2 separate regions of the Homo sapiens genome follow, and region 2 is linked to region 1. The links are contacts of gene promoters, found by promoter capture Hi-C in blood cells and fetal thymus (Javierre and others, 2016). All regions are on one chromosome and are shown on one strand. The core of a region is centred on a gene start or on the middle of the fragment in contact, and the rest is flanking DNA. Distances in the headings are between cores, read along the strand shown. Region 1 holds the start of MARCHF7 (membrane associated ring-CH-type finger 7). Region 2 overlaps TANC1 (tetratricopeptide repeat, ankyrin repeat and coiled-coil containing 1).

Region 1 (6,479 bases), core at 1,160-3,659:
GGGTCTCACTCTGTGGTGCAGGCTGGAGTGCAGTGGAGCTCTATCATACCTCACTGCAGTCTCTGCAACTCGTGAGCTCAAAATGATCGTTCTGCCTCAGCAGCCCAAGTAGCTAGTAGTAGCAGTGCGCACCACTACACCCGCACCACCATGCCCGTAGAGATGGGGTCTTTGTGGCCTGGCTGAACTCCCAGCCTTAAGCGATCCTCCCACCTTGGCCTCCCAAAGTGACGGGATTACAGGAGTGAGCCACCACACCCAGACACTAATTTTCTAGTACAGTACAGAAAGTCTTTTATGTCGGGCTCTAACTTACCATTCAATGTATGTTTCAGCTACAGGAACAAATCATGAATTCCTAAAACAAACCATAATATCATGACTTTGCAGTTTCTTTATCAAAGTCCTAGTGAGCCTTCACATCTTAGTTCAGGCAATAAATAAATAAATCCTGTAAAATTTCCAAGATTAAGCACCCCTCCCCTATGCTCCCACAGAACCACTGTACAGTCATATTAAGATAATAATAGTTGTTTATACATTAGTCTGATGACTAAACAGTGAGTTGTGGAGGGCAGATGCCATGTCAAGCTCATTCTTGTAATGTGAAGCTCTCCATAATTTGTAATTTGACTACAACAAATTACAAATTATCTAAAAAAGTTTTAAGATATTTGACAGATTTTGCATTATAAAATTATTTTCCTACAATAAAATGTCAAAATGTAGACGATTCTTGAACATAGAGCAGATAAAAGAGTTGTGTAAGGTGGGTATGGAGCGGACTAAAAATTGGCTACATGAGAGTCATGGATGACTTTTGTGTCCAAGTTCGTTACCTGACACCTTCATGTAGAACATAACCTGGGCATCCTCGTGCTTTATCTGGGAAAATAGCCCTCTTCCAGGTGGCAGAAAAAAGAAATCATTTGTACTTGAATAAGTAGGAATTCTTAATTCAAGACACCTGACCCAGCACTAAACTTGGAAAAAAACCAAGACTAGTATTATGTCCCCTAGTGACTGCTTCACACACCACCTCAGCAAATTTAATCCTCTCTAGAAATTAACTGCCATGTTTCTGAGACAATCTCGTGAACTTAAATAACTATGGCAAAAATCAAGACTCAAACCCAGGTCTTCTGAGTCTGGTGCTACTGCCTCATGCACCAGTCCTGTCTCCCAAAATGCTGTAGAGCTGTTAAATAAAAATATTATACTGACCTCATTTCTCAAACAAACTTTTTGCTACCTCAAGTAAAAGATCTAGTTACACTACATGTGTGCCTTCTTAATAACTGTATACTATTGGATTTTTAAATCGAAAATTCATCTTTAATCCTACATCTTGGTTCTGGACAGAAAGGTGGAGATTTAAAATAACATGTAATCAGAAAAATAGCTAATCAATCCTACAAAATGGGGGAGAAAACCTCGCCAAATTTCAGTTTTCACACATTTAACTAATAGTAACAAACAACATTAGTCGTGACGAATTTATTACCCAGATAGACTTTCCCAATATATTTACTTTGGTACTTGAGAAAAAGTATTAAGTGCAGCATTTTGGGGTGAGGGGGTGGACACACATCTTCAATACGCAGTTTCACCAAAATGAGGGAGTTTCCTACTCCCGGCGCCTTCTATATTTTTACTTCTTAGGCCAACAGGTCCATTTTTAATACAATCACCTACTTCGAGTTGCAGAACCCACAATTCACCACAACACAAAAATAACTCTCAGGGCGTCACGATATTCAAAAACTGACGTTACCAATAAGACAATCTTGGCCGAATCTAAGGGGCTACCGAAGTCACTTCGACTCGAGGCCGGGCTGGCCGAGCCGGAGCCCTGCCCGCCTTTGCCCCGCGCTCACCGGCGAGCTCACGCGCGACACCCGCGGCCCGCAGGGCTCCGAAGACCCCCCGCCCCACGGCCCAAGAGGAGGCCGCCCCGCGCCAAAGGAGGGCTCAGGCTTCTTCCCGTCACCCGCCACACGTCCCTGAGGAAGACACACAATCTGTCCCCTGCACCCGCCACAAACTCCACCACCCGACCAAAGGCCCCTGGCAAGGGAGGCCTGCGCTGTGGCCCCTTGGCCCCGGTGGCCCCGGACCAAGCTTCTCCACCTCATCCTGAGAGGAAGCGGCCTCCGCGTCCCCAGGCCTCTTCGTTTCCTCCCCTCCCCCACTCGCGGCCTGGTCCCGAACTAGCGCCCAAGACGGAGAAGAACTAGCTCCGCAGCTCATTACCCCGGCTCCTGAGCCGGCACCGACCAGTGCGCGTCCCACTCGCAGCAACACGCACCGCCGCCTTTCTCCTTGGAGTTCTAGGCCCGTGACTGAGGAAATGCAGTCGGCAGCGAAGCACAATGGCGCCCGCCCCTCTCCCGGATCCGGCGCAGAACCAGCCACCACCGTTAAGTGCCCCTCCCTGCTCCTCCTCCCCCCACTTCGCGGACTTCCTGGCTTCTCGCGAGAGTGGCGGCGCGGCGGGGACCGAGAGCTGCGGGCGGGCTGGAGGTACCCCACCGCGGGGTGGTGCTCTGACTGCGGGAACCGTTGAAGAGCTGCCCCCGGGGAGTCAGCGAGGCGCCACTGGTAAGCGGCAGCGGCTGGCTGGCCGGCGTGCCGGCAGCTGGGCTGGCGAGTGTGCGGGCGCCGGGCGCTGGAGGCCCGGGCCGGGGCGGTCCCCGCCCGTCTATAGTCTCTGAGCCAGCCCCTTCCCTCCCGGGCGCCGGGTCCCCGCCCACAGGCCCACCTGCAGGGCCCCGTGCTCGAAATAACGCCCAGCTGGTTGGCTTTTTTTTTTTTTTTTTTTCTTTTTCTGGCTCTTGGTAAGTGGCGCAGTGAATGTTGAATTGAATCAAGCACTGCCTTTTCCGACCTACCCCTCCCCGCTTGCTTCCCTGCCCGCCCTGTGTGATCTAACTGCAAGCCCTTTCCCTTAAGAGTTGGAGCCTGTTTGTCCAACCTTGTGATCATTTCCTTGTGGTAAGAATCTTGGTAAATGATGGTGATCATGTCTTTTAAAATCGTGATAGTAACCTTTAATAGCGTAGCCATCGATTTTGCAGTAAACAAATTCACCTATTTAGAAAGAGGGAGGAAAATTGTGAGGTGAATGGTCTGGTGAATATTAGATGAAACTTTCAAAGAACTGTAAATGTGGCAAACTAAGATGTAAATGAGTACTAATAAATAAAAGGGAGTAGGTTAGGGAAAAGCTACATCTAACTATGTGTAAATATTTAGATGATATGTTGATTTGGAATAATGAATCAAAAGTTTTTTAATGGAAAAGATCAGTTATTGAAACTTGGAAGAATACTGAAAGGCACTTGATTTTTTTTAATGACCTATTTTGTTAAGGTATTAAAAGCAATCCTTTGGATCCAAATAATTCCAATAAATGAAACACAGTGTTTCTACGTGTTTGTCATTACATCGGAAGGGAATGGAGTATCAGTCACTATCATCCTTATTTTATTGTCTTGGGGACTAACAGACTGTACATGTTTCACTATGATAAATTCTAAAATACTATAAATTTTAAAGACTTAAAGGTATTTTAAGTTGGCATGTAAGTGCCAATCTAACTTTTAGGATATGAAATGAAAATAAGCATCTGGTATGGGATAAAGTGAACAGAGATTACTTTTGAGGAAATTAATTTGCCCTTTAAAGAAAAATAATTCTTTTCCAGCCTGTTCGAGTGCCCCTGCAGCATTGTGGTTATAGATACACGGATGTATACACCCTGAAGAACCAGACTATATGGCTTCAAATTCCACCCCTGCCTCTTACTACCTTTGTTATCTCAAGCAATTCCTTAACCTTGCTAAACCTAGGTTTCCTGTAAAACGGGGTTAATAACAGTACCCATGCTCTGTAGCATTGTTTAGATGAGATAACACGTCAGTTCCTGAAACAAGTAAGCATTCCGTAATTGTTAGCTATTACATTCCATGTCTAAACCACCAATAATATTGTTTCTTTCTGTGACTTAATATTACATAGGTCTCTTAGACATCTTCTCAAGATTATGCTAAGAGAAATGACTGCACCCTTTTCCTGAGCTATGGCAGTCAGACCTGGCAGTGGTAACTACTCTACAGAACTCCCAAACCTGGCAAGGATGGTGCAGATTTTGGCAGATTATGGCTTTGTCCCCACCCAGCACTGATGATATTATAAAGTGAGTATGACACCAATTTCCTATGCTAAACAGAGCTTCTAGTTTTTTATTGGTGCTAGTAAATAAAGACCACTGATGAATATGTTTTTATTATTTAAGAATGGTTCGTTGTGTTTCTTTTTAATGTACTCTCTCTGATTTTAGTATTCAGGTAATTATCATGAGTGATAAATAATTATTGAGATTTTGCTATGCTGCAGACATTTTGCAGCCGGGCGCCGTGGCTCATGCCTGTAATCCCAGCACTTTGGGAGGCCAAGGTGGGTGGATCACGAGGTCAGGAGATCGAGACCATCCTGGCTAACACAGTGAAACCCTGTCTCTACTAAAAGTACAAAAAATTAGCCGGGCGTGGTGGCAGGCGCCTGTAGTCCCTGCTACTTGGGAGGCTGAGGCAGAAGAATCACTTGAACCCAGGAGGCAGAAGTTGCAGTGAGCCAAGATCATGCCACTGCACTCCAGCCTGGGCAACAGAGTGAAACTCCATCTCAAAAAAAAAAAAAAGACATTTTGCTAGGAATTATGGATGTGAATAGGTAAAACATGGTCATGGAAAATGACCATAGTTTCTTAACTAAAAATCGTCACAAAGTGATTTGACAGGCAAGTGTTTGAAGTCAAAACTGTTCCAGACAATCTAGACACCGTGCTTGCCTTTTATCCACAGAGTTCCCCCACTTGACCTTCCCTTGCTACTTTTTATCCTTTATGAGTGACTCTGACATACCTTTCTGTATCTAAATATCTTTGTTCACCACTTGCCCTCACCACTCACCTTAGTTTTCATTTTTAAACTTGGCTTCTTCTCTAAGTTAGCATCTTATTGACTATTAACCAATTTTCCCCCTTTTATTTTATAAACTTGTCTGTTATTTACCCATGGTCATTCAACCCTTTACTCTTATGTTTTGAGCATTTCTTCCACCTGATAGCTTAGAATGCTCTTTCAGATATTGAATTTCAAAGTTCTTGTTTTCCCCTCTTTTATTCATCCCACAACCTAATCTTCTAAAAAGCTTCTCTTTGGCAAGGGTAGTTGTAGAGATATCCTTTACTTTGCATAAATGGTGGGACATTGAAAAGATGTGGTTACATTTGCTTTTTGCAAATCATATAATTTTTTATTGATACATAATATTTGTATATATTTATGGGATACATGGGATATTTTGTTACATACATAGAATGTGTAATGATCAAGTCAAGGTATTTAGGATAACCATCATCTAGAACATTTATGACTTCTGTGTGGGTAGTATTTCAAGTCTTCCCTTCTAGCTATTTTGAAATAATGCAATATGATGTTAACTATAGTCATTCTACTCTATTATCAAACATTAGAACTTACTCCTTTTATCCAACTTTATATTTGTACCCATTAACCATCCTCTTTTTGTCCCCACCCCCACCACACACATACTCTTCCCAGCCTCTGATAACTATCATTCTACTGTCTACCTGATTGAGAACAATTTTTTCAGGTGATCTGCCTGCCTCGGCCTCCCAGTGTGCTGGGATTACAGGCGTTAGCCACCGCGCCTGGCCAAGGATCCCTGCTTCTTTTTTTTTTTCTTTTTTTATCCAGCCCAAAATGTCATGAGGACTCCTACTTCTAAGGGATATATTACTTAAAGGTCCATTGTTCTAAGTCTTTGATGTAAGGGATTCCTTTCATAACAAAAATAATAAACTCTCGATTTAGTGCCTTTATAAATTTTTATTTTCCCCACATCAAGTTTTATTTAAAGTTGCCATATTTAGTAAATGAACATCCAAAAAATTCTGTTGGTTGACTTCTACTGGATTAGCATCAAAAACTTTCAATTCCCCAAGCCAGTATTTAAAAGGATATAGAGGCCAGATGTAGTTGCTCAAGCCTATAATCCCAGGACTTTGAGAGGCTGAGTCAGGAGGATGCTTGAGACCAGCGTGGGCAACAAAGCAAGGCCCCATCTATACAAAAAAATTTTAAAAATTAGCCCTGTGCATTGGTGCATGCCTATAATCCCAGCTACTTGGGAGGCTGAGGCAGGAGGATTGCTTGAGCCCAGGAGGTTGAGGCTTGCAGTGAGCGGGGATCATGCCACTGCATTCAGGCCTGGGTGACAGACCCTATCTCAAAATAAATAAATAAAGAAATAAATAAATAAATAAATAAATAAATAAATAAAAGGTTATTAAAACACGTAAAGAGAATACCATCTTGAAACCCTGTCTGAGAAACCTCTCTTACATCTAAGCTTACAGGCTAGATCTCACTGCTTCTAGAAAGATCATTCCT
Region 2 (6,479 bases), core at 2,663-5,162, 520 kb after region 1:
GAATAAAGTGTAAAGCCCAGCTGCCATCCGTAAATGGAGGTGCGGTGATGTGCAGCAGTAACATACCCACCCCAAAGGCTTAGCCACACATTTCCTTCTCCATGAACTGAAGTTTATGTATGTCCCAAATGTTGGATTTGAGAGAAAAAAATAAATCTCCCACAGCTGTTATAAGCCTAATTTTTTTGAACTTTAAATATCCTAATTAAAAGACAAAAGATAATTAGCAGTTTATCTCTACTGTTATTCAAAAGGCACATTTCCCAAAAAAATGCTTCCAGTAAACCTAGCATTTACTGTGAGCTCGATATCATTCTCATTCACCCTATTAAAGCTGACAGCTCCTGGCCAGACGTGGTGGCTCATACCTATAATCCCAACAGTTTGGGAGGCCAAGGCAGGCAGATCATGTGAGGTCAGGAGTTCAAGACCAGCCTGGCCAACATGGTGAAACCCCATCTGTACTAAAAATACAAAAATTAACCAGGCACAGTGGCATGTGCCTGTAGTCCCAGCTACTTGGAGGCTGAAGCAGGAGAATCACTTAAACCTGGGAGGTGGAGGTTGCAGTGAGCCAAGATCATGCCTCTGCACTCCAGACTGAGTGACAGAGTGAGACTGTCAAAACAGAAAAAAAAGTTGATCGCTCTAGAGTAACTTGTATAGCAATACATACTTACTTCATATATGACTGAATGCTTACTCAACAGCCCTGTGGTAGGGACTGCTGTTATGCCCATTTTACAGATAAGAAGCCTGAAGTCATATATAGGCTCAATAACTTGCCCAATACCCTAGGGCTGGCAAGTGGAAAGATGAAGATTCCAGGCAATCTAGTTCCTGGAGCTCAGGCACATGGCTTCTTCATGAGTTCATGGAACTCATCCTACTGTTTTAAAAGGACATAAAATGGGATAAGAAGAAGAGAGGGGAAAAAAGCAAACATTTAAAATATTTTAAACCAATCTTGGTGCTTTCTAGATCGATACTTGCAGGCTTTTTAAAGGCTGGCCCTCCTCATGCGGCTAGGAGCCAGGGTCTCCCTGGAATTCTGCCTTCCCCTGGACAACATTAAGCAGAGTTGCTGTGTATGAGCAAAACAAACCTCTCTGAGGCTGCCACATTACAAAGTGACCAATCCCTGGAGCCCGACCCTTTCTGTGTATGCTGTGGTTTCAGAGACAAGAGAGTCTGGCCCAGCAAATAACAATTCTAGCAATGAGATGAAGCCATTTCCCTGCCCCAGCCCCAAAAGAGCAGGCTGCCGCTTACTCTCACTCCCTTCTTGGTCAGCAGACACACCAGCTTCATGTGGCCAGCAGCTGCTGCGTAACAGAGGGCAGTCATGCCGTTCTCTGACGTTCCGTCCAGGCAGGCACCAAATTCCAGGAGCAGAGTGACAACTTCCTCGTGGCCAAGGTGAGACTGGACGCACAGGATTGGGGCATTATTTAACACTTCTGTCCTGTAGTTCACGTTGGCCCCTCCCAAAATCAGGAGACGGCTCACCTGTTGGACAAGGCCCCCCAACAAGATTGTCACATGTATGTCATCTAAACATTTCTGGAAATGGGCAGTATCCTCAATTTTCGGTATCATTTTAATCCAGTGGTTCTCAAACTTGAATGTGCACCAGTATCACCTGGGAATATATTAACAATGCACATTCTCATTGGTGGGAATGTAAAATAGTGTAGCTTACTGGGAAACAGTAAGATGGTTCCTCAAAATATTAAAAATAGAACTACTGCCCCAGGCACGTGACTGTAATCCCAGCTACTCAGGAAGCTGAGGTGGGAGGATTGCTTGGGGCCAGGAGTTTGAGGCTGTAGTGCACTATGATCATGCCTGTGAACAGCCTGCTGCACTCTAGCCTGGGCAACACAGCAAGGCCCTGATGTGAAAATTAAAAAAAAAAAAATTTTTAATTAAAAATGTCAGTAGAGGCCAGGTGCGGTGGCTCACGCCTGTAATTCCAGCACTTTGAGAGGCCATGGCGGGTGGATCACGAGGTCAAGAGATCGAGACCATCTGGCCAACATGGTGAAACCCCGTCTCTACTAAAAATACAAAAATTAGCTGGGCGTGGTGGTGTGTGCCTGTATCTCAGCTACTTGGGAGGCTGAGGCAGGAGAATCGCTTGAACCCGGGAGGTGGAGGTTGCAGTGAGCTGAGATTGCACCACTGCACTCCAGCCTGGCGACAGAGTGAGACTCAGTCTCAAAAACAAAAACAAAACAACAAAAAATAACAATAGAACGGCCATGTGATCAGTCATCCCACTTCTGGGTACATATTCAAAAGAATTGAAAGCAGGATCTCAAAGACATATTTGTACCCTCATGTTAATTGCAGCATTATTCACAACAGCCAACAGGTAGATGCAACCTCAGTGTTCATCAGTGGATGGATGAAGAAAATGTGGTACATATACATACAATGGATTATTCCTGCTTAAAAAGGGAGAAAATCCTGCCATATGTGACAACATGGGTAAACCTCGGGGAAGTGAAATAAGTGAAGCAAGCCAGACGCAAAAGAACAAATACTGAGTGAAACTACTTATGAGATATATACAGTAATCAAATTCACAGACAGTAGAATGAAGGTTTCTGGGCCTGGGCACAGGGGAAATGAGAGTTGTTGCTTAAGGGATATAGAGTTTTGATTCTGCAACATGAAAAGTACTGGACATCTATCGCACAACAATGTGAATATTGTTAACACTACTGAATTGCAGACTTAAAAATGGTTAAGATGGTAAATTTCCTTTTATGTGTTTCTTAACCATAATTAAAAATAAAAACTAAACAAATAGCCAGGCAAGGTGGCTCATGCCTGTAATCCCACCACTTTGGGAGGCTGAGGCGGGCGGATCACCTGCAGTTAGGAGTTCGAGACCAGCCTGAAGAACAGGGTGAAAACCCCGTGTCTACTAAAAATACAAAAATTAGCCAGCGTGGTGGCGCACGCCTGTAATCCCAGCCACTCAGGAGACTGATGCAGGAGAATCGCTTGAACGCAGGAGGTGGAGGCTGCAATGAGCCAAGATTACGTCACTGCACTCCAGCCTGGGGGACAGAGCAAGACTCCGTCTCAAAAGCAAAACAAAAACAAAAACAAAAAAAACCTAAACAACTGCAAATTCTTGGGCCCCACCCCCTGATTTCTGATTCATTATATCTGGGTGGTACATTTTTAATAAGTTCCTCGTTGATATTGACACTCTTGGTTTGGGGAACCACACTTTGAAAAATCACTGTTTAACCTCAACAAAACCAGGAAATTCATTTTCCTGGTAATGAAGTAATAATTGTGGCTGGGTGCAGTGGCTCACAACTGTAATCCCAGTATGTTAGGAGGCTGAGGAGGGAGGACTGCTTGAGCCCAGGAGTTTGAGACCAACATGGGCAACATGGCAAGACCCCGTCTCTATAAAAAATGTTTTTAAAAAGAAAAAAATAGTCATGGTGTTAATAGTGAGATAAGGCCAAAAGTAAATACAAATACTTTATAGGGATGTGTTCCTAAAAGAAACAGAAAATATGGAAATGTCCACATGTGCCATGATTGTCCGCAGCATAATACTGCTAGAAAATAATGTGCTGCTTCCACTAATTACTATATCCCCCACTTAGTAATCTCCCTGGATCTAGGTATTGGGAAAAGCTTTTTATCTACAGGTTTTAAAATAAAATTACTGAACATACGCAAATTTTAGGTATAATAATATTTTTTTTTTCAGATCTTCAGATCATTAGATACAAATGATGCTCCTTTAACAGCTATTAAGATGCCCAGTGTGTTTCTTTCAATGGCTTACTTCAATGGTCCTGACCCACATCAATCACTGCCCCTGCCAAAGCCTGGCAGGTCCTCCACCTGCCCACTAAATGTGAAAACCACAGAGACTATCATTTATTGACTAGAGACACATGGGGATCATTAAAAGATACAGAGAGATGACAAGGCATAAAAACTTCATGGTATTTCAGTGATAGATGTCCACAAGAGTAGCTGACAAACAGAATATTTACAAACAAATGGGTCTGGAAAATTATACTACCAAGTAGTGAAACCATAACTCACAATGGCATAGTGACAGGTTAGAACCCCAGGTGTCAAATTTGAAGATGTCTTGGCTGCTGAAGCTTGAACCTCTGTGATACAGGCCTCCAGCTTCCTCTCTGATCTTCTCTGCAGAATCCTTCCCTCACTGCAGCCACCTTGGACCCAACACGTGCTGTGACAATGCCAAGCAGGGCCGGCCTCATGGTCTTTACCCCCTTTTAGTTCCCTGACTGGAATGCTCATTCCATAAATATAATCACTTCCTGCAGGGCTCTGCTCCAGTGCCAGGACATGGGGGAGAGGGTACCCTGTGCACCCAGGCCCTCTCTATCCCTCAGCATGCTCTGTTTTCCTGCTTAGTCCACTGCACCAGACACTGGTTCTACGATACAGAAGTTCACAGAGAAGAAAGGCAAACAGAGCCCCTCCATGGATGGGGATGACCCACACATCAGTTTCTTCACACTGCTGGGACTGCCATCTACATTTAAGGAAGAACAGGCCATGTGCAAGTGACAAGGAGCCAGCCAACCACCTGACCACCACCCCGCTGTCTACACCATCAGAGAGACCACTGTCTAGCCAGATCCAGGTGAACACCAACCCAGCCTCTAGGGTCTCGCTGTCAACTTGTACTTGTGGAGGAATGGATGAGAGATCAGAAAGGGTGTCCAGTCCTAACACTGCTGTTTCATGGGCAACTTCAGGCAAATGACTTAATTAATCCCCACCAAGCCTGCTCTACAGATCTATATAGGCTTGCTTTTTAAAAATGCCACCAGACTCTGATCTAATTCAAAAGCATTTTAAGACTGCATTATGCTACAACATTAATAAAGGTGTGGCTGGGCATGGTGGCTCACGCCTGTAATCCCAACACTTTGGGAGGCCGAGGTGGGTGGATCACCTGAGGTCAGGAGTTTGAGACCAGCCTGGCCAATATGGTGAAACTGAGTCTCTACTAAAAATACAAAAATTAGCTGGTTGCGGTGGCACACGCCTGTAATCCCGGCTACTCGGGAGGCTGAGGCAGGAGAATCACTTGAACCCAGGAGGCGGAGGTTGCAGTGAGCCAAGATCACGCCATTGCACTCCAGCCTGGGCAACAAGAGCAAAACTCCATCTCAAAATAATAATAATAAATAAAAATAAAAATAAAATAATAAAAGTGTTTTAAAAATCCCTTTGAGTAACAGCGTGGACAGAATCAGATTATGCTGAAGAAATAGGATTTTATTAAGGCCAATGAAACCAGTCCTCAGCAAGAGGAGTAGAGAAGATACACATCTGGAAATACACGCAATGCCACCAAGGGGCACACCAGACTCTGCTAGCCACAGGATGGGCAGGATCATTTGTAAATTCCCTGGATAATTTTGCCAGCCAGTTACATTCTGTCCTCCCCCATCAACCCCATACCTTCTTGAGATCCATGGGCCTAAAAAATGAAGGATTAAGTGGTGTGAGTTCTCAGCCAGCCCCCAAACTAACCTACTGTGTGATTTTCAGAAAATTCCTCAACCTCTCTGTGCTTTAGGTGCCACCTAAGAAAACAGCAGCATGCCATCCCATTCTATCTAACAGGTACTCTTTTGCTAATAATGGTGGAAGGTATACTTGGAGTACCATGATGAATCCCTTACAAGAGTTTACCTGGAAGGCATGTGCTCAGGGCAGAGGTTTCCTAAAGATGTCATCAATTCACACTTCCTCTGCTTCTGGGAATAACATTTTCCTTTGTCGGTGTAATGCTGTACGTATTTTTACCACTTAACCCTCCATCACCTTCCCCTAAACTATGGTTCTTAACCTTGATGCACACTGAAACCACCTGGGAGCTTGAAAGTTTCCAATACCCTGGCCCCACTCTTGGAGATTCTGACTTAACTGGGGCTGGGGCTGTGGTGCCCAGAGCTCCCAGGTGATTTTAGCTGGCAGCCAGGGCTGTAAACACATCAAGTGATAAAGGCACCTGCAGAGCAAGGGCTTGCTGAGTGTCAGGCGCCCTTCCAGCTGTGTGATTTTGGAAAGTATCAACTGCCCTAAACCTCAGTTTTCTCATCTAAAAAAATGAGGATAAAAGTTTCACTTCACTTGGTGGTTGTAAAGATTAAAAATCAATGTGTAAAAAAAAAAGTGTATGTATATATATGTGCATTAAGCATTTAGCACAGCACTCAGCATCTGTACATGTTAAATAAACATTAATCGATGTTATAATCAACCTTTCATGGAGTCTTCAGAAACGACAAGAACTCAGGTCCCTGACCTCTGGAAGGCACAGGAGGGAGCTCTGCCCTCCTGTCCACATCACCCTGCATGCCCAGCCTGGGCTGTTCACCAGCACAGAGCAGCAGGGACACCTCATGCCGAGATGAGGGCAGAGGTAAGTCACCTGCAACCATCAC

Evidence for each region. Contacts are between HindIII fragments. The CHiCAGO score rates a contact against its expected background, and 5 or more counts as called.
Region 2: a contact is called between a fragment that was not itself captured here and the fragment with the promoter of MARCHF7 in region 1, in 1 of 17 cell types (megakaryocytes). The highest score is 6.0, in megakaryocytes.

What each region holds. Positions count from the first base shown.
Region 1 is chr2:159,708,436-159,714,914 of GRCh38, reverse strand. It overlaps MARCHF7 (membrane associated ring-CH-type finger 7), which reads right to left and starts at 2,409. Exons shown (of 12, transcript NM_001282805.2): 1 at 2,309-2,409; 2 at 317-358. It also overlaps a transcript of BAZ2B not described here. RefSeq lists silencers at 1,811-1,930, 2,451-2,960 and enhancers at 2,121-2,400, 2,168-2,834. The HindIII fragment of the contact is 3,093 bases long and covers 2,124-5,216 here.
Region 2 is chr2:159,189,287-159,195,765 of GRCh38, reverse strand. TANC1 (tetratricopeptide repeat, ankyrin repeat and coiled-coil containing 1) reads right to left here. Exons shown (of 27, transcript NM_033394.3): 17 at 1,273-1,509. Among named protein-coding and RNA genes, the nearest start is that of MIR6888, 5.7 kb to the right of the region's middle. RefSeq lists a cis regulatory region at 306 and an enhancer at 222-391. The HindIII fragment of the contact is 482 bases long and covers 3,672-4,153 here.